Linked DNA regions of Homo sapiens: regions 2, 3, 4 and 5 are each linked to region 1. The links are contacts of gene promoters, found by promoter capture Hi-C in human tissues and cell types (Jung and others, 2019). All regions are on one chromosome and are shown on one strand. The core of a region is centred on a gene start or on the middle of the fragment in contact, and the rest is flanking DNA. Distances in the headings are between cores, read along the strand shown.

Evidence for each region. The method cuts DNA at HindIII sites, captures the fragments that hold promoters and counts their contacts. A contact is called where the count stands out against the background at its distance.
Region 2: a fragment that was not itself captured here is called in contact with the fragment with the promoter of AMN in region 1 in 9 of the 25 tissues and cell types used here (H1 embryonic stem cells, IMR-90 fibroblasts, dorsolateral prefrontal cortex and 6 more).
Region 3: a contact is called between a fragment that was not itself captured here and the fragment with the promoter of AMN in region 1, in 2 of the 25 tissues and cell types used here (mesendoderm cells and pancreas).
Region 4: a contact is called between a fragment that was not itself captured here and the fragment with the promoter of AMN in region 1, in 2 of the 25 tissues and cell types used here (H1 embryonic stem cells and IMR-90 fibroblasts).
Region 5: a fragment that was not itself captured here is called in contact with the fragment with the promoter of AMN in region 1 in 2 of the 25 tissues and cell types used here (dorsolateral prefrontal cortex and thymus).

Annotation. Positions count from the first base shown.
Region 1 is chr14:102,920,593-102,924,359 of GRCh38, forward strand. AMN (amnion associated transmembrane protein) reads left to right here and starts at 2,071. Exons shown (of 12, transcript NM_030943.4): 1 at 2,071-2,139; 2 at 3,119-3,237; 3 at 3,343-3,387. The coding sequence starts at 2,097. RefSeq lists silencers at 2,295-2,494, 3,658-3,767. The HindIII fragment of the contact is 38,072 bases long and covers 1-3,767 here.
Region 2 is chr14:102,808,599-102,812,365 of GRCh38, forward strand. All of the region lies in intron 1 of TRAF3 (TNF receptor associated factor 3), which reads left to right. Among named protein-coding and RNA genes, the nearest start is that of TRAF3, 33 kb to the left of the region's middle. RefSeq lists silencers at 1,086-1,245, 3,055-3,164. The HindIII fragment of the contact is 3,490 bases long and covers 73-3,562 here.
Region 3 is chr14:103,029,235-103,033,001 of GRCh38, forward strand. All of the region lies in intron 1 of CDC42BPB (CDC42 binding protein kinase beta), which reads right to left. Among named protein-coding and RNA genes, the nearest start is that of CDC42BPB, 26 kb to the right of the region's middle. The HindIII fragment of the contact is 5,944 bases long and covers 1-3,767 here.
Region 4 is chr14:102,835,997-102,839,763 of GRCh38, forward strand. The region is part of intron 2 of TRAF3 (TNF receptor associated factor 3); the gene reads left to right. Among named protein-coding and RNA genes, the nearest start is that of TRAF3, 60 kb to the left of the region's middle. The HindIII fragment of the contact is 6,332 bases long and covers 1-3,767 here.
Region 5 is chr14:103,002,795-103,006,561 of GRCh38, forward strand. It overlaps CDC42BPB (CDC42 binding protein kinase beta), which reads right to left. Exons shown (of 37, transcript NM_006035.4): 4 at 1,134-1,229. Among named protein-coding and RNA genes, the nearest start is that of CDC42BPB, 53 kb to the right of the region's middle. The HindIII fragment of the contact is 7,582 bases long and covers 1-3,767 here.

The sequences.
Region 1 (3,767 bases), core at 821-3,320:
ATCTATATGTCCATTCACCCATTCGCCATCCACTCATCCACCACCCACCATTCATCTATCATCCCTCATCCACTGTCTACCATCCACCATTCATCCATCCACCCATTCACCCATCCACCATCCATCCATCCACCATCCACTTATCCACAATCTGCCATCCACCATTCGCCATTCATCCATCCATTCATCCACCACCCATCACCATTCACATCCACCATCGGCCATTCACCATCCACCATCCACCATCCACCTATTCACCATCCACCATTCACTCATTCACCACCCATCCTTCCATCCACCCACCATCCACCACCCACCATCCACCAACCACTATTCATCTTACCATCCACCATCCACCATCTATCATCCACTATCTACCATCTGCCGCCCATCCATCCACTTAATATTCACCATCTACTCATCACCATTCACTTGTCCATTATCCACCACCCACCAACCATCATCCACCTACCATCCATCATCCACCATTTATCCATTATCTACTTATCTACCATCCATTACCCATCCATTTATCATCCTATCCACCATCTACTATCCACCCATTATCCACTATCCACTGTCTATTCACTATCCACCATCTATTCACTATCCACCGTCCATCTCCATCCACAATTCACCATTTATGCAACCATCATCCACCATCTATCCATTTACCATCTATCTATTCACCATCCACCATCCATCCATTCAGCATTCATCACTCACCAAACATCCACCATTTAACACCCACTTTTTTTTTTTTGAGATGGGGTTTCACTCTTGTTGCCCAGGCTGGAGCACAGTGGCGTGATCTCCGATCACCACAACCTCCGCCTTCCAGGTTCAAACGATTCTCCTGCCTTAGCCTCCCAAGTAGCTGGGATTACAGGCATGTGCCACCATGCCTATCTAATTTTGTATTTTTAGTAGAGATGGGGTTTCTCCATGTTGGTCAGGCTGGTCTCGAACTCCCGACCTCAGGTGATCTGCCCGCCTTGGCCTCCCAAAGTGCTGCGGTTACAGGCGTGAGCCACCGTGCCCCGCCAACACCCACTCTTTATGATCTACCTGTCGGCCATGTATCCATTTATGCCATTATCCATCCACCACTCCCTGATTACCATCCATTCCTTTTCCTTTTTTTTTTTTTTTTTTTGAGACGGAGTCTCGCTCTGTCGCTCAGGCTGGAGTGCAGCGCACGATCGTGGCTCACTGCAAGCTCCACCTCCTGGGTTCACGCCGTTCTGCCTCAGCCCCCCAAGTAGCTGGGACTACAGGCGCCTTCTACCATGCCCGGTTAATTTTTTTGTATATTTTTAGTATAGACGGGGTTTCACCGCGTTAGCCAGGATGGTCTTGATCTCCTGACCTCGCGATCCGCCTGCCTCACCCTCCCAAAGTGCTGGGATTACAGGCATGAGCCACCACGCCCGGCCATTCATTCATTTTTCACTCACCATCCTCATCCATCCATTCATCACCCATCCACCCTCTATCACTCACCATCCACCCCGTCAACCATTTACCATTCATCTGCCATGCGTCCATATGCCGTACACCATGCACCATCAATGTTGCTGTCCATCAGCTGTCCCCTACTCACCATCCACTACTCTCCACCATCATCCACAATCCACCCTCCTATACCATCCACATACCATGTTCCATCCAGGATCTTCCTTCTATCATCCAACCACCACCCACAGCCCATGGGACAGGGGCACTGCGTGGAGAAGTGGACACCCAGTTCCAATGGTGAGCAGACTAGCTCAGCCCTAGCAGCACACAGGACAGAGAAAGGGGTGAATTCAAAGGTCGTTTATTCCCCCTCCCGGCAAGACACCCATTTTACAGGGTAGGTCAGTCTCGCCAAGCCCTTCTTCTTTGCCCTTCTTCCTGAGAACCTAAGGTGTTCAGGCCCTGCAGGGGCGGGTAAGGGGAGGCTGAGAAGGTGCCTCCCAGGGGCCTGAAGAGTCGGCCCTGGGCGGGTCTGGAGGTAAATGTGTAACCGACCCTGGTGCCCCCACCCGACCTGCCTGGTCACGTGGGTCCAGTGGGGCAAAGTCTCCTGGTGGGGTGCAAGGAGCCGAGGCGAGATGGGCGTCCTGGGCCGGGTCCTGCTGTGGCTGCAGCTCTGCGGTGAGCCGGGACCACACCGGTGCGGGCCCGGACGGTAGCGGTCTGTCAGGACCCAGGGCCGAGGTCGCTCTAGGCCTGGAGGGTGAAGATCTTCCGAGGAGTGGGCAGGGAGGGCTTTGGAGGGTTGGGGGCGTGAAACTCGGCCCTGCCTCCCTCGTCTGGCGAGTGCGCAGCCCGGAAGTGCGCGGCCAGTGCATCGGGCGGTGCGGGAGAGGAGAGGAGGGGCTCCGGGAACCTCGGCCAGCCCCGGCCTCCGGCGGCTCCTGCCCTCGCGGTTTTTCCGTCTGCGAAATGGGCGCGGTCCCCAGAACCTGCCGAGAGCAGCGAGTGTGCGCCTGCGGGGCTCGGCAGACCGCCTCAGCTTCCCGGTCCCCAAGGGAGCACTGAGCCCTCCTCCGCCTTCACACCAGGCCGGCGCGTGTCCCTGGCGCCCCCTTCCCTAAACCCCTCGCGGCTCCCTCAGGACAACCCCACCCACCACATTCAGGGCCGGCCTGACCTGGTCCTGCCGCCCCCAGCCCCTTCTTACTTCTCATACCGGGTTGCGCTCTGTCGCAGCTCTTCCCGGCCCAGGTAGGACTCCTCCGGGAAGCCTTCCTGATTCCAAGGCCGAGAAGAGGTCTGTGCTGCCCCATCCTCCTCCATGCCCCAGTTGTCACTGTCCTTAACAACGCTGTCCTCTGCTCCAGCGCCAGGCAAACTGGGGGCAGTGCCGGGAGGCTATCTAGGCAGGCGTCCTGCAGGGCGCGTTTGAGCGGGCTCTGCAGGTATCAGTAGAAGTCCGTTGGAGAGCGCCCGGGCAGGGCGCCCACAGTCTGGCCGGGAGGGACCAGGGTCTGGGTCCGGGCCCCCGGGGATGGGGTTCCTATGCGTCCCGGGTGATCCGCGCGGACCTTCCGCACTTCTCTGGGTGGGTGGCCTTCCCTGAGAAGGGAGCATCCCGGAGAGCATCCCGGGCACTCAGTCGCCTCCTCCCCAGCACTGACCCAGGCGGTCTCCAAACTCTGGGTCCCCAACACGGACTTCGACGTCGCAGCCAACTGGAGCCAGAACCGGACCCCGTGCGCCGGCGGCGCCGTTGAGTTCCCGGCGGACAAGGTGCCTGGGAGCGCCGGCGGGGTCGGTGATGGGCCTGGACCCCTGAGACCGTGTGGCCCCGGTGGGGGTTGCTCCCGGCTCGGCTGAGGCAGCTTCTTCCTGCAGATGGTGTCAGTCCTGGTGCAAGAAGGTCACGCCGTCTCAGACATGGTAAGGCCGGGCTGCTACTGCCACTGGGCTGGGGGTTCACAGAGTCTCTGAAGCGCCTTCAGGGACTGCTGTGCCTTGAGGGCGGACCCCACCGGCATGGAGGCACTGCAGGACTGGGACTTTGGCCTCTGGAGAATATTCTAGGAGGCAGGGAGTGGGGGGGAACCTAGGGGAGCTTGGTCCCATGGTCCCAGCCAGGCTGTGTCCTGGGAGGGATGGGAGGCACCCCTGTCCCCACAGCCCTTGTGATGCCCAGCAGTGGGTGGTCTTCCCAGGAAGCGCCTGCTCCATGCCCTTCCCCCAAAGCCTTGCCTTGTCCTGGTGCCTAAAGCTCCATCTTTAGAACACTAGGGAAAGTGTCCCCAACACCCCCCCCTCTA
Region 2 (3,767 bases), core at 568-3,067, 110 kb before region 1:
GAAGTTATTTAAGAGGATTTGTTGGAACAGAAAAACTTCCAAATTGGTCTAGAAGGTGGACCCTAGCTATAGACGCATTTTACAGGACATAATGTAAATATTAAAGGCACATTTTCAGTATTTGGGGAAAATATGTCCTCTGAGTCGAATGACCAATGGCTGTTTCTAGAAAAATTTTAGTTGTAGTTTTAATTTGATTGTCTTGAGCATGGTGATAGATTGACTTTTTTTTTTTTTAAGACAGTCTTACGCTGTTGCCCAGGCTGCAGTGCAGTGGCACGATCTCAGCTCACTGCAGCCTCCACCTCTTGGGTTCAAGTGATTCTCCTGCCTCAGCCTCCCGAGCAGCTGGGATTACAGGTGCGCGCCATCACACCCAGCTAATATTTATTTATTTATTTATTTTGAGATGGCGTCTCGCTCTGTCACCCAGGCTGGAGTGCAGTGGCGCGATCCCTGCTTACTGCAGCTTCTGCCTCCCAGGTTCGAGAGATTCTCCTGCCTCAGCCTCCCAAGTAGCTGGGACTACAGGTGCGTGCCACTACACGCGGCTAATTTTTTGTATTTTTAGTAAAGACTGGGTTTCACTGTGTTAGCCAGGATGGTCTTAATCTCCTGACCTCGTGATCTGCCTGCCTTGGCCTCTCAAAGTGCTGGGATTACAGGCATGAGCCACTGTGCCTGGCCGCACCCGGCTAATTTTTGTATTTTTAGTAGAGACGGGGTTTCACCAGTTGGCCAGGCTGGTCTGAAACTCCTCACCTCAGGTGATCTGCCTGCTTCAGCCTCCCAAAGTGCTGAGATTACAGGCGTGAGCCACCGCGCCTGGCCTAGAGTGACTTTCTTAAAGCTCTGTGTCTCCTGGAAATGGAATGTATCCCAAATGAGGATTATTTTTAAGCTTTATAATAAAATCTTTCACAGCATAGACTTTTTTTTTTTTTTTTTTTTTGAGACGGAGTCTTGCTCTGTTGCCCAGGCTGGAGTTCAGGGGCGCAATCTCGGCTCACTGCAAGCGCCGCCTCCCAGGTTCATGCTATTCTCCTGTCTGTCTCCTGAGTAGCTGGGACCACAGGCGCTCGCCACCACACCCGGCTAATTTTTTGTATTTTTAGTAGAGATGGGGTTTCACCATGTTAGCCAGGATGGTCTCAATCTCCTGACCTCGTGATCTGCCCGCCTCGGCCTCCTAAAGTGCTGGGATTACAGGCATGAGCCACCGCGCTTGGCCCACAGCATAGACTTTTAAAGACCATGTAGGCAAGAACAGATCTTTAAAGGGAAACCTCAGTTTGGCTTTTGAAAGTTCATCTGATTGAAGTTAAACTGATGAAACATACTCCATCCATGCATTACCAAAAACGTTGGAGCACGGCATGGCAGTAGTATCTAAAACAGATTGGCAAACTATGGGTCTAAGAATAGTTTTTATGTGTTTAAAGGATTGTAAAAATAAGCAAAGAAGAATATGTGACCCATGAAACATAAAATAGTTACTGTCTGGCTCTTTATGGGAAAAAAGTTTGCCAACTCTTGGCTTAAAGGGTCAAGAATGCTTTACCAAAAAACAAACAACCCCCTCCCCCCTACAACTGTAATGTTTGAGCAGGAGTTTTACAAGATAAAGAATTTTGATCTTGAGGGGATTTGGGTGAGGATGGGGCGGTGCAGTGGGAGAGAGAGTATAGATACTGTTCATCACACCCAGTGCAGTCGGCTCTGGTGGGAACATAGGGTGACCTCAGTGTGTGGTGAGGACAGTGATCATGGCCCCTTTTACAAGTTGAAGCTTAGTTCTGGAGTGGTGGACCATCAGAAGCTTTTAAGTAGGAGAATGTCAATGTCATAAATTAGAGTTAATTGTGAGAAATTGAAATAAGTATTCCATTTTTTTCTGAGATGTGCTCTCCTGAACTTATAAAGTAGTTCTTCAGAAGTGTTTGCAGTGTTCACAAGACACTGGCTCTGTGGTATTTGACATGCAGATGGGCCCAGAATTCCTGACTTAAGGCTAAAGATTTATCTTGAGCTTATCATGATGTGGGCTTATGATTGTTTTGATCAGCAGCTGACATCTGTGAAGCCTCAGTGATCCTATAAATTGAGGAACCTGAGAGAATCAAGAGAAAGACAACAATTCTTGCTGATGTCAGTAACTGTATTTCACCTGTTAAACTTCTGCATGGAGGAGGTCAGTGTTGTCTGCTGTGTCAGCATCAGCCTACCTGGGTGTGGACGTATTCTTTGGGAGATGAAACGTAGAAAAGGTACCCCGAGTCCATTACACATTCTGGATTCCCAGAAATAAGACATCTCTGAGGGCAGAACCTTTACAGTCACTTACATCAAGAAGGAATTCTTCAGGAGAAAGCTCGGTAAAGGTATCTTAACTTTGTATGTATACCCAGAGAAAACACATAAAGATAAAAATAAAATAATTTTCCTCATTATCCCCACACCATTAGCATCTTGGTGTATAGTCTTTGCATCTTTTTTCAGTATGTATGCACTTAGATCATCTTGTAGGACGCCAGTCCCATGCATTATACACTTTGTATCTCACAGTGGAGTGGAGGACAGCCTGATCCTTAAGGGGATGCCGAATTGCTGCATCCCCATGATTTTTGCTGCTTTGATTCTTCTCATGAGCCCCGTTGCTGCTGTCTGTATTAGCGTCCTTCTGAGCAAACAATGGGTACCTTTTTTTTTTTTTTTCTTAAGAGAGAGTCTTGCTATGTTGCCTCAGGCGGGAGTGCAGTGGCTATTCACAGGTGCTGTCGTACTGCCCTGGATGATAGTACACTGCAGCCATGAAGTCCTGGGCTTAAGCAGTTTTCGCCTCAGCCTCCTGAGTAGCTGGGACATTAGGCCCGTGCCGCCATGCCTGGCTCTTGACCATTCCCACAAGCCACACCTACAAGGAGCTCAAGGAGCTGTTTGCGCTGTAGGCGGTTTTTTTTTTTTTTTTTTTTTTTTGGTTTTTGTTTGTTTTTGTGCAGAGGTCAGATCTCTTGTCTCATAGTGCAAAGGCGATGAAGGCCTTCATTACAGTCTCTCAATTTGACTCTCAGTTTGATCGGAAGTTGCTAAGATGGGCTGACATTGTGAGGAGGATACTGCTACAGCAGTAGTGTGTGTGTGTGTGTGTGTGTGTGTGTGTGTGTTTGTACAGACTGTCTCACTCTGCCACCCAGGCTGGAGTGCAGTGGTGCAGTCATAACTTACTGTAACCTTGAACTCGTGGGCTCAAGTGATCCTCCTGCCTCAGCCTCCCGAGTAGCTAGGACTGTAGGCTTGTGCCACCATGCCTGGCCCTTTTTTTTTTTTTTTTTTTTTTTTTTTTTTGTACAGACAGGGTCTTGCTGTGTTGCTAAGGCTGGTCTCAAACTCCTGGCCTCAAGTGGTCTTCCTGCTTCAGCCTCCCAAAACACTGGTATTACAGGAGTGAGCCAGAGCACCTGGCCTGAAGCTATATATTATTGTTAACTGCAGTCATCCGACAGTGCTATAGAACACTAGACTCTGTTCCTGTCTAGCTCTCTCCCCATTTTTCCCATCCTCCTACCCTTCCTAACCTCTAGTATCCTGTGTTTACTTTTGACTTCTGTGAGATCAACTTTTTTTAGCTTCCACATGTATTAGTGAGAACATGTGGTGTTTAACTTTCTGTTTTTGGCTTATCTCACTTAATATAGTGTCCTCCACTTCTATCCATGTTGCTGTGAACGACAGGATTTCATTCATTTTTATGGCTAAATAGTAGTCCA
Region 3 (3,767 bases), core at 729-3,228, 110 kb after region 1:
CTAATCCAGCACCAGAGAAGTGAGGCTAAAGAAATGCTAAATTACGCTTGTAATCCCAGCATTTTGGGAGGCCGAGGTGGGTGGATCACGAGGTCAGGAGATCGAAACCATCCTGGCTAACACGGTGAAACCCTGTCTCTACTAAAAAATACAAAAAAATTAGCTGGGCGTGGTGGCAGGCACCTGTAATCCCAGCTACTGAGGAGGCTGAGGCAGGAGAATGGCATGAACCTGGGAGACGGAGCTTGCAGTGAGCCGAGATTGTGCCACTGCACTTCAGCCTGGGCAACAGAGCAAGACTCTGTCTCAAAGGAAAAAAAAAAAAAAGAAATGCTAGATTGGCCAGGCGTGGTGGCTCATGCCTGTAATCCCAGCACTTTGGGAGGCTGACATGGGCGGATCACGAGGTCAAGAGATCGAGAGCATCCTGGCCAACATGGTGAAACCCCGTCTCTACTAAAAATACAAAAAAAAATTAGCTGTGTGTGGTGGTGTGCACCTGTAGTCCCAGCTACTTCGGAGGCTGACGCAGGAGAATTGCTTGAACCCAGGAGGCGGAGGTTGCAGTGAGCCGAGATCGCGCCACTGCACTCCAGCCTAGTGACAGAGGGAGACTCCATCTCCAAAAAAAAAAAAAAAAAAAAAAAAAGAAATGCTAGATTGGAGCCCTCAGTGGCCAGACACGCATGTGAGCGGGAAGCAATATTCAAAACAGCAATAGCAATCCATCCAGCAACTCCAGCCCTCCCAGCACCTGAGGGGCTCTCCAGCCAGCAACTCCAACCCTCCCAGTGCCTAACTGGCTCTCACAGGGTGGCTGCTCCTGAACCAGAGGAAGGGCCACCAAGCAAACCGCCCTCAGAGTGAGGCGCTCACTTTCCTTCCTGAACAGAGGAGAAGCGTGGAGCGGCCAGCCCGGCCTCACCTTGCCCGACAGGAGTGACCAGTAGTCGCCCATCTCCATGGGGCGTGCCCAGCACGGTATCAAAGCCCTCTCATGGCCAATGAGGTTGAAGGTGGAAATGGTACCTCTTTTTAAAACATTTAAGAATGTTTAGAAGAATCTGGTTCTTTTAAAAAAGAGGCAAAGAAAGTTTGAGGAGCATAGTTTGGATAACAATGGCTTCACTCATTTTAAATGTTATTTATTTCAGCCTCAACAATTAAATGTGTTCAGGTGGCCAGGCACAGTGGCTTATGCCTGTAATCTCAGCACTTTGGGAGACCAAGGTGTGTGGATCACCCGAGGTCAGGAGATCAAGACCAGCCTGGCCAACATGGTGAAACCCCATCTCTGCTAAAAATATAAAAATTAGCTGAGTGTGGTGGTGCACGCCTGTAGTCCCAGCTACTTGGGCGGCTGAGGCGGGAGGATCACTTCGACCTGGGAGGTGGAGGTTGCAGTGAGCCCAGATCCCATCACTGCACTCCAGCCTGGGTGACAGAGGGAGGCTCCATCTCAAAAAAAAGTGTTCAGGGCTGGCTCACACCTATAATCCCAGCACTGTGGGAGCTGAGACAGGTAGATCACTTACGCCTAGATGTTCCAGACCAGCCTAGGCAACATGGCGAAAGCCCGTCTCTACAAAAAAATTCACAAAAATTAGGTCAGTGTGGTGGCATGCACCTACAGTCCCAGCTACTCGAGAGGCTGAGACGGGAGGATGGCTTGAGCCCAGGAGGTGGGAATTGCAGTGAGGCAAGACTGAGCCATTGCACTCCAGCCTGGGTGACACGGTGGCACCCTGTCTCTACACACACACAAAAGTGTTCAGATTGGCTGCCAGACTACCCACCTCCAATATGTCACATATCCAACTGAACCTAAGCATTTCTGAGTTACTTTTTTTTTAATTAAAAAAAATATTTTATGCTGATATTTTTCAGTATTATAAAAACGCCGGCATGAAGGAAATGAAATAAAAAAAGTACATGACCCAGACACCAAGCAGAGAAAGATGGCCAGTGTGCTCCTGTATCGTCATCTTTGGCTCACCATCCCCACGTAAACGCAGTAATAAACAGGAAGGAAGGATGTTTTCACAGAAGACTTGAAAATGTTCTTCTGATTTCATGAAAGTAATTGGTAAGCCAGGAAAACTACCCTTTTCACCAGATGCCTAGAGATGAGACACTAAAATCAACAAATGAAAGAGCTTTCCAAATAATCAATAAAACTTTACGGCAAAGTCAGCAAATGTTTAACATTTTGCAAAAGGACATCTAGCTTTGTGCAGTCTGCATTTCCTTTCACAAGCTACAAGAGCTGTCAAAAATGCTTCTCCTTAAACAAACGCTGCAGTAAAAATACAAGATTTATACTACCAGGGTTTATTTGATTATGAAAATTGTACTTTTCCAGAACGTCTGGCGATTTCCAATTTGGGATGAGCCTGGTATTTCTCTACAGGCGCCCACACGCAGGCCTTTCCCCAGTGCTCTCAGCAGGAAGGGCCTGGGGCTCCCAACAGCACCAAGGCCCAGCCTCTGTGCAGCCTGATGTGCAGGTAGAATGCCCAACCCGTCTGGCTTCTAAGGGCTGGATTCCGGAAACCAACTAAAAAGCTGATGTACCAGAGACTACAGCATCACTCACATGGGTGGACAAGTATCAACTAATTTTTCTGAACTTCAATTAAAAAATCAAAAAGCTTAAGATCACATTTTAAAAAGTTGAGTCCTCACTAATTGTCAACTCCAAAGTGTCTCCAGTGAACAACTACTATAAGACCTGCCTTCTATTATTATTATTATTATTTTTTTTTTTTTAAGAAAAATGCCACAAGCCCAGGGCATCCTCACCCAGCAAGCAGCAGAGGGAGCCAAGAGCACCAGCCGGCGGCCAGCCTTGTGGCCTCAGGGCAGCGGCAGGTGTTTCTGATATGAAGGCCTGGAGAAGCAACACGTATTTCATTCACTTCTCCTTGTCCCCCTCTGCTGTCTCAGAGTGACAGATCCAACCTCTCATGCCCACCCACGAGGACCAAGGAGAAGGGAGGTAATAACGCACTTCTCGGCCTCTCTGCAACCCCGCGTGGGTGCACACTTGGGCCTCAGGCCTCACCAGCTCCTGACTGGAATATACTTTACCACTGCAACATCTGAAATGAAATCAGAAATGCCTATTTTTTTTTACATCGATTGAACCCCCAAATAGTTTATTTCCCACAAAATATACTGGGCCAATAGTATAGGAATGATCTGTCAAATGCCAAATTTGTCCAGCTAGGAAAACACTAGAAACCAGTTAAAACTTTTGAACAGGACAGGACAAATGCCAATTCTTCCACAAATAAACTGCAAAAAAAAAAAAAAAAAAAAAGGAGAGAGAAAGAGCTTACAGATTAAAAGAGATTAAGGAGGTGTACAATCCAAATGCCTATAAAACAAATCCACTTTTTTTTTTTTTTTTTTTTGAGACGGAGTCTCGCTCTGTTACTCAGTCTGGAGTGCAGTGGTGTGATCTAGGCTCATTGCGACCTCTGCCTCCCGGGTTCAAGCAATTCTCCTGCCCCAGCCTCCTGAGTAGCTGGGATTACAGGCATGCAGCACCACGCCTGGCTAATTTTTATATTTTAGTAGTTTCATCATGTTACCCAGGCTGGTCTCGAACTCCTGATGATCCACCTGCCTCAGCCTCCCAAAGTGCTAGGATTACAGGCATAATCCACCGTGCCCGGCCACAAATCCACTTTTTTTAAAAAAAAAAAAAAAGGAAATTTAAACAATGACTATTTTATGATATTGAGAAATTACTGTTATTTTTT
Region 4 (3,767 bases), core at 328-2,827, 85 kb before region 1:
GTTACACTGAGCTGTGATTGTGCCACTGCACTCCATCGTGGGTGACAGAACAAGACCCTGTCTCTAAAATATTTATCTACATGATATATACATTTGGTGGGTGCTTTGGTCCCAACTGTCTGTGACCATCTGGGGCAGAGCCAGTGCCGTGTGCAAGGTGTACTGCCTGCACACAGCACAGGAGGCTGGGGCTGGCCAGGGCCTGTGCACCTGCTCCTCTGTGCCTGGCTTGTGGATGCCCCTCACTCGCTGAGTCTTTTCTGAAGTCATTTAGCAGCACTGCCACTGCTCTAACCTACATTTAAAGATTTATTTTCATAATTTTCTGGCAGAAAATTTTATTAATGTAGCCATTTTATTTGTATAATGATTGTTGAGAATAGAATATTTTATGTTCAAGATATTGATTAATTTTTGGAGAAACTAAGAAATTTGATGTTGCATAACAAATCTCTATTTAAATTCACGGTGTAAACTGCAGTGAATCATTAGTGTATTAGGTAAAAGCCAACATTGCAGAATATAGTTTATTTGAAAGGCCGCTTAGATGAAAATTCTAGGGTGATCTGGAAATGTTTTACACTTTTGTATATGTGATCATTGGATGCTACTTAGGAGAGTTTGTACTAGTGTGTCTAGCAGTTGTAGCAAGGTGAGGTGGGTGGCCACATTTGATTATGAAGTAAATTTATTCTAGAGAGTTTATATAGCATGAAGAATATTACAATCAAAGAAGTGTTACACTACATATCTTAAACTTTTAACATGACTCTTATCTAGCTATAAAAATATGTCTGACATTTTGTGTTTTAGGAATGAAGTAAGTATGCAGTGGTAATGAATGTTTGATCATGATTTCAGGTGAGTAAGACGTCAGGGAAACCTATCACAGTTCCATAAGCAAAAATGAAAAAAACTCACTGAGGTATATTGCTACAAAATGGCTTCTTTCCCCCAAGAATAGCTGTAACTGTGACAGAGTAGCGCAGCACAGTCCTTCCATTCTCCCCTTGCTCTTTCCTCCTCCTCATCCAGATGCATTTGGATGATACTGTTCAAAAGTAAGATAAATAATTGTACTCAATTTTCATATTAGAGTAGCTAGAAATTAAGCAAGTAATTTGTGTGTGTGTGTGTGTGTGTGTGTTTTTTTTGGGGGGGGGTGAAGGTCTTGCTCTGTTGCCCAGGCTGGACTGCAGTGGTATAATGACAGCTCGCTATAGCCTCAACCTCCTGGACTTAAGCCATCCTCCCGCCTCAGCCTCCCGAGTAGCTGGGACCACAGGTGCATGCCACCACACCTGGCTAATGTTCACATTTTTTATAGACATGGGGTCTCACTATGTTGCCCAGGCTGGTCTTGAACTCCTGGCCTCAAGTGATCCTTCCACCTTGACCTTCCAAAGTCAAAGTGCTGGGATTACAGGTGTGAGCCACCGTGCCTGGCCTCCAAACAATAATTTAAATGATGTGATAAATTTTATTTTAGCCTAGCCGAGATCTTAAAATCTATTTTGAAGTCAGGCACTAGCCTTATTTGGTTCAGCTAAAGGTGCTCCCTGGTGCATCAGGTTGTGAATGTCATATATGAGTCCTAAGGGAGTAAACAAACTCTGGCTGTGTCAGTGCTGAAATTCAAAACAGTAAAAAAAAAAAAGATACTTGGTTTTAAAATGGGGTGGATGCATCTATTGGGCTTTATTGATATTTTGGAAATTTTGAGATATGTATTTTGCCTCTTGCTAAGGAATTAGATAATCGTGCAGGGTTTGAATTGACAGTTGTCAAAGTCAGCAAAAATACTATGGTCAAATTGCTGGGTCTTTGAGACCTAGGTTTTAGTCCTGTTAGCTCTGACTTTGGGCAAGTTGTTTGATGTAATTGTTTTAGTTCCTCAACAATCCAGACCCTGGCCAGCAGAGTTGGAGCATTGAATGATCTTTCTAAGATAATTTGAGCGTACAAATGGCAAATCTGATTTAACAGCATAACTGTTGATTCTTACGGCACAAGTCAGTGAGCCTGTCTTTGTTGAGGTAGTCGCGGTGTGATAACAGACATAGTAGTTAAGAACACTGACTCGAGGTAGACCGCTGTGCCGCTTAGTAACGTATCGTGTTGTGAAGCTGCTGAATCTTCGTACTCTAGTTTCCTCATCTCTATAACAGGCAAATTTGTAATTGTGACAAATAATAACTACAAGAAGTAAATTAATAACTAAGACCAAATGCATACTGTGTGGCCAGCACCATTGTAAGTGCTGAGGATACAAACCTGAACAAGACACATTGCTGTCTTCAGAAAGCTCACAGTCAGATGGGAGAGAGAGAAGGAAGCAAGGCAAGTACAGGCTTGTAAGTGTTGTGATGGGTGTCCTTACAGGACCAGGATTTCAGGAGGTAAGGTCAGTTTCCCTGGGAAGGGAGAGTTAGAGAAAAGATGCTCGCAGTTTAATTCAACAAACAAGTGGTACCTGCTGGGTGTGCCTGCCGTCCTGCTAGGCATTGAGACTACAGGATAAATTTAGCATGATCCCTGCTCTAAAGGAGCTTAAAGTTTAGTGGAAAACCATGAGTCTAGTGATAAATAGTAGTTGTCAAGATACTTGAATGGAGTCTTGCAGATGAAGTGTTTGACAGGCAGTGGAAGAACAAAAACACAGAAGGAGACAGTCGTTGCGGCTGGAGCAGAGTTTGCAAGTCCACTCCTGGTGAGGGAGGGGATGCTGAGCCAGCAGGGCAGGGTCTACTCACACCCAGAGGCTGGCTCGGAAGCAGCAGATGTAAAGGGAAGTGTGTATTGGAGGGGGTATGTTGTGAATTTGATGACGTCTGATTGTTACATTGAATTCCATGAGTTCTAGACAATTTCTTCATGATAATTACCCCCTTAAATTTCATAATCTTCATTCCCCCACTAAATTTAATACCATAACATTTTTAATTTAAAAAACACCTTTTTTGTCGGTACTTTTGAAAACATTTTCCTGCACCTGTGCCTTCTATGAAATGAACGCTGTAGAGAATCTGTGGAAATCGGCTCATGGTAGAAGCTTTCCCTGTCATATGGATGAGTCCTTTTGCTTGCCCAGTGCCCTCCTGGCATATTGATGAGGTAGGATTGGGAGTTCGGAACGCCTACAAAATGAGCAGGCTAATTTCGAACGGATGCTAATCCTGCAAAACCAAGAGAGATGCTTATTGGTTGATTTGCCTTTTTTTTTTTTTTTTTTTTTTTTTTTTGAAACAGTCTCACTCTGTCACCCAGGCTGTAGTGCAGTGGCGCGATCTTCGCTCACTGCAACCTCTGCCTCCTGGGCTCAAGCGATTCTCCTGCCTCAGCCTTCTGAGTAGCTGGGACTACAGGTGCACGCTACCACTTCTGGCTGATTTTTTGTATTTTTAGTAGAGACGGGGTTTCACCTTGTGGGCCTGACTGGTCTCAAACTCCTCACCTCAAGTGATCCGCCCATCTTGGCCTCCCAAAGTGCTGGGATTACAGGCGTGAGCCACTGTGCCCAGCCATTATTTGCTTTTAGTTGAATTTGTGTGTTTGGAGACTGAGCACTTACTTTCAACAGTGAAGAAATTGACTTGGCAGCAGTTGCTGCAGGTGGCTGTTTTCGGTCTACCTCATACTGTCAGTGTGTCGCCCAGATACTATATAATTACTCAGTTATTTTGCAGTCACAACATCTTTGTGTGTTTGTATTTATTTAGTAATTAGAAGAAAGTTTTTATGTTCTCATAGTATCTTCCTGTCTACAC
Region 5 (3,767 bases), core at 711-3,210, 82 kb after region 1:
GACGGGGACCCCTGTGGGCCTGAAACATCCTAAGTGCTCAACAAACACCAGCTGCCCCCTCTGCTGGGCAAACACATATATATAAAGTCTACATAAGTACACATTTTTCCCTAATCCTGGGTGTTCAAATCTCAGGGCTTTCTCTGATGCTTCAAGGGCTCCTTTAGGGTGAATGGAAGGATCCCACACTACTCCATCTGCTGTGAACCAATGGAGCGCACAACCCAGGAGCTTCAGGTGGACACGCACGTTGGCTGCCAAGGAAAAGGAAGCCTCGGGTCCCTGCTCTGAGGCTTGGTGACCACAGCGACCACGCCCCTCTCGCCACCACTGCAGAAACAGTGCCATTGGGAATGAGTTGGGCTGAGACCTCCTTCTCTGAGGTCTGCCCGCGTCACGTCCACCCAGAGCTCCAGCAGTGGACACTTTCAGGTTCAGGCAAACCTAGAGTCACTCTAGGAATAAAAAGTCCTGAACAAGGCGGTCTGCGGGTCACTCAGCGGCCAAGACCAAGGGCTGGTTTCCCCTTCACCGCCAAGTCAGCTGCCTTAGAGTGCCGTGGAGGCGAACACGCTTGACAATGCACATGCATGTGCGTCACGAGGCTGGTCCATCTGTCCTGAAAGCAAGCCCTGTTTAAATCGGAAAAATACACAGGCAGCGTGGAGACTAAGAGTCACCTAAAACCTGTCGAAAGGGCCTGGGGCACCCCCCCCACCGCGGGAAGACAGGAGGACTGCAGGCCCACGAGAGGCACTCCCGGACTCAGCCCTAGCTGAGATGGAGGCAAAAACATCCACGTGGCTTAATCCCCACTGCGGTTCCTTATTCTCAATAATCCAAGATTGAAAGTGTTTCAAACTCCCAGCTGATTTAAATGTAATAAACCCAGCAAACAAACGAATCAGCTTCTCTAGTGATTAGAAAAAAACAAAGTCCTTACTTCCACATGTGTATTTTAAAGAAGTTCTACCTGACAATTACTGCATGAAAACAAGCCCCGCCGTTTTATCGAGTCCAATACACATTTTTTAAATGTCAGTTCCACATTGTCTGACTGAATTTTTAGTGACAGCATAAAGGAATAAAGCCGGAGCGAATGCCCTGACCGAGTCTCTGGCTGTGCGACCTACCAGGTGGTTCTCGTCCTGAAAGGCGTAGTGCAGCGCGGTGATCCACTGGCAGTCGCCGTTCACCAGCACATCGCGCTCCTCTCGGAAGCACGCGGTCTGCAAAGCAACGAGGGGTGTCAGTCTGTGTTCACTGGGAAGCAGGCCAGAGAGCGTACTGCCGGTCTCGGGGTCCCTCCTGGGACAGTGGCTCCAGCCACGGTGTCCCTGCCTTCCGGGCTCCTCCTCGTGCACCACCCCGAGGCTGCTGAGGCTGAGCCATCCCTCATCCCTTCCTCTCCCAAGCCCCGTGCAAGTGCCAAGGGCTGCTGAGGAGGCACTTGCACCCTGCTGTCCCACGGGCACCATTTCTGTGGCTGACACTTAGATTCACCCCACCCTTATGTGGATTCCTGACTGGGCTCCTCCCACCTGGCACCTCCTGACTCCTCTACCAGATCAACCTCTGCCAAGTATCGATGGCATGGGCAGCCCCACGTGTCTGCCCTCTCCGTCCTATACCCACTACTGAGCTGCTGTGCAGCTGGCAGAAGGCGCACACGTTTGCTGAAATCACAGTATAGTGATGACACAATTGTCACAGATTCCACTAGGGAGGCCTACAGCCAGCAGCACAGGGCAAGAGGCTGCCCTCTACCCTGCTACGTCTTCCAAAAGAGTTTTAATGCCCAGGTGGCATCTCCGTTTAAAAGTCACCAGGCCTGGCCGAGCACGGTGGCTCACACCTGAGGTCAGGAGTTCAAGACCAGCCTGGCCAACATGATGAAACCCTGTCTCTACTAAAAACTAGAAAAACTAGCCAGGTGTGGTGGCAGGTGCCTGTAATCCCAGCTACATGGGAGGCTGAGGGGGGAGAACTGCTTGAGCCCAGGAAGCGGAGGTTGCGGTGAGCCAAAATTGCATCACCGTACTCCAGCCTGGACGACAGAGCCAGACTCCATCTCAAAAAGAAAAAAAAAATGGCTGGTCACGGTGGCCCACACCTGTGGTCCCAGCAGTTTGGGAGGCCGAGGTGGGTGGATCACGAGGTCAGGAGATCAAGACCATCCTGGCTAACACCGTGAAACCCCGTCTCTATTAAAAATACAAAAAAATTAGCTGGGTGTGGTGGTGGGCGCCTGTAGTCCCAGCTACTCGGGAGGCTGAGGCAGGAGAATGGCATGAACCCAGGAGGCGGAGCTTGCAGTGAGCCGAGATCATGCCACTGCACTCCAGCCTGGGCGACAAAGCGAGACTCTGTCTCAAAAAAAAAAAAAAAGTCAACAGGCCTTTGGCATAATTTTAACATGATTTCCTCTTTATTGAGCACAGAACAAGATTCAAACTGTCTTACATTTGAACTTGTCAAGCTTAACAAAAATATAAGTACATTACGGAGAGCTTGCTATGTGAGGCACGAGGGCACAGTTCTGACCGGCTCTCAGCTGAGTCTCACAGTGACCTCTGAAACTTATTTCTTCTACAAGGTTTTCTTTTCTAAACTTTAAAAAGTTTTCCTTTCAGGCTGGCCATGGTGGCTCACGCTGTAATCCCAGCACCTTGGGAGGCCAAGGCGGGAGGATCACTTGAGCCTAGGAGTTTGAGACCAGCCTGGGCAACATAGTGAGACTCCGTCTCTACAAAAGAATCTTAAAAATTAGCCGGGTGTGGTGTCACCCGTCTGCAGTCCCAGCTACTCAAGAGGCTGAGGTGGGAGGATCGATGAGCCCAGCTGAGATCATGCCACTGTACTCCAGCCTGTACAACAGAGTAACAGAGTGAGACCCTGTCTCTAAAACAAGAAAAAAAAAGTTTTTCTTTCAAAATGAAATGGTTGGCTGCACACGGTGGCTCACGCGTGTAATCCCAGCACTTTGGGAGGCTGAGGCAGACGGATCGCGAGGTCAGGAGTTCAAGACCAGCTTGGCCAACATGGTGAAACCCCGTCTCTACTAAAAGTACAAAAATTAGCTAGGCGTGGTGGCGGGTGCCTGTAATCCCAGCTACTCGGGAGGCTGAGGCAGAGAATCGTTTGAACGCAGGAGACCGAGGTCGCAGTGAGCCAAGATCGTGCCATTGCACTCCAGCCTGGGCGACAGGGAGAGACGTCTCAAAAAAAAAAAAAAAAAAAAGATGGCTGTTGCAGCTGTGTCCCAGTTCTACTAATGACAACATGACAAGCGGTCAACATTCAGCTTGCTAATGTCCAGACATGCAGAGACCAGCAATTCTGGAATCATCACAACCCCTCTGCCAACAGCCACCTCAGCCACAAGGGCCTGGTGAAGGGACAACTAAAGAAAACCTGAGCCTCAGTGTGCCTGACCTCCTGTCTTCCAGAACGCGCCCCCAAAAAGAAATGGTGATGGAGTGCTGAGTCCCAGGTGAGGTGAGACCGTGGGCTCAGGAGGCCGGGGCTGCCCCGAGGATCTGCGGCACCTGTGCCAACGCCTCCAGGAGACGCTCCCTGAAGCTCTGCCTGGCAGCTAGCTGCCCAGAGCATTTAGGAAAAACCCATTCTTAAACTGGGGACTGCCTGCAAGGTGACCTGCTGACAGGAAACTTATGTATTATCCAGCAGTTTTGTTTAAGGAGCAGAGAGAGAAACTTTTAGTATTTTTTAACCAAGTAAGATGAAATAAAGACCTTGCCTGGTAG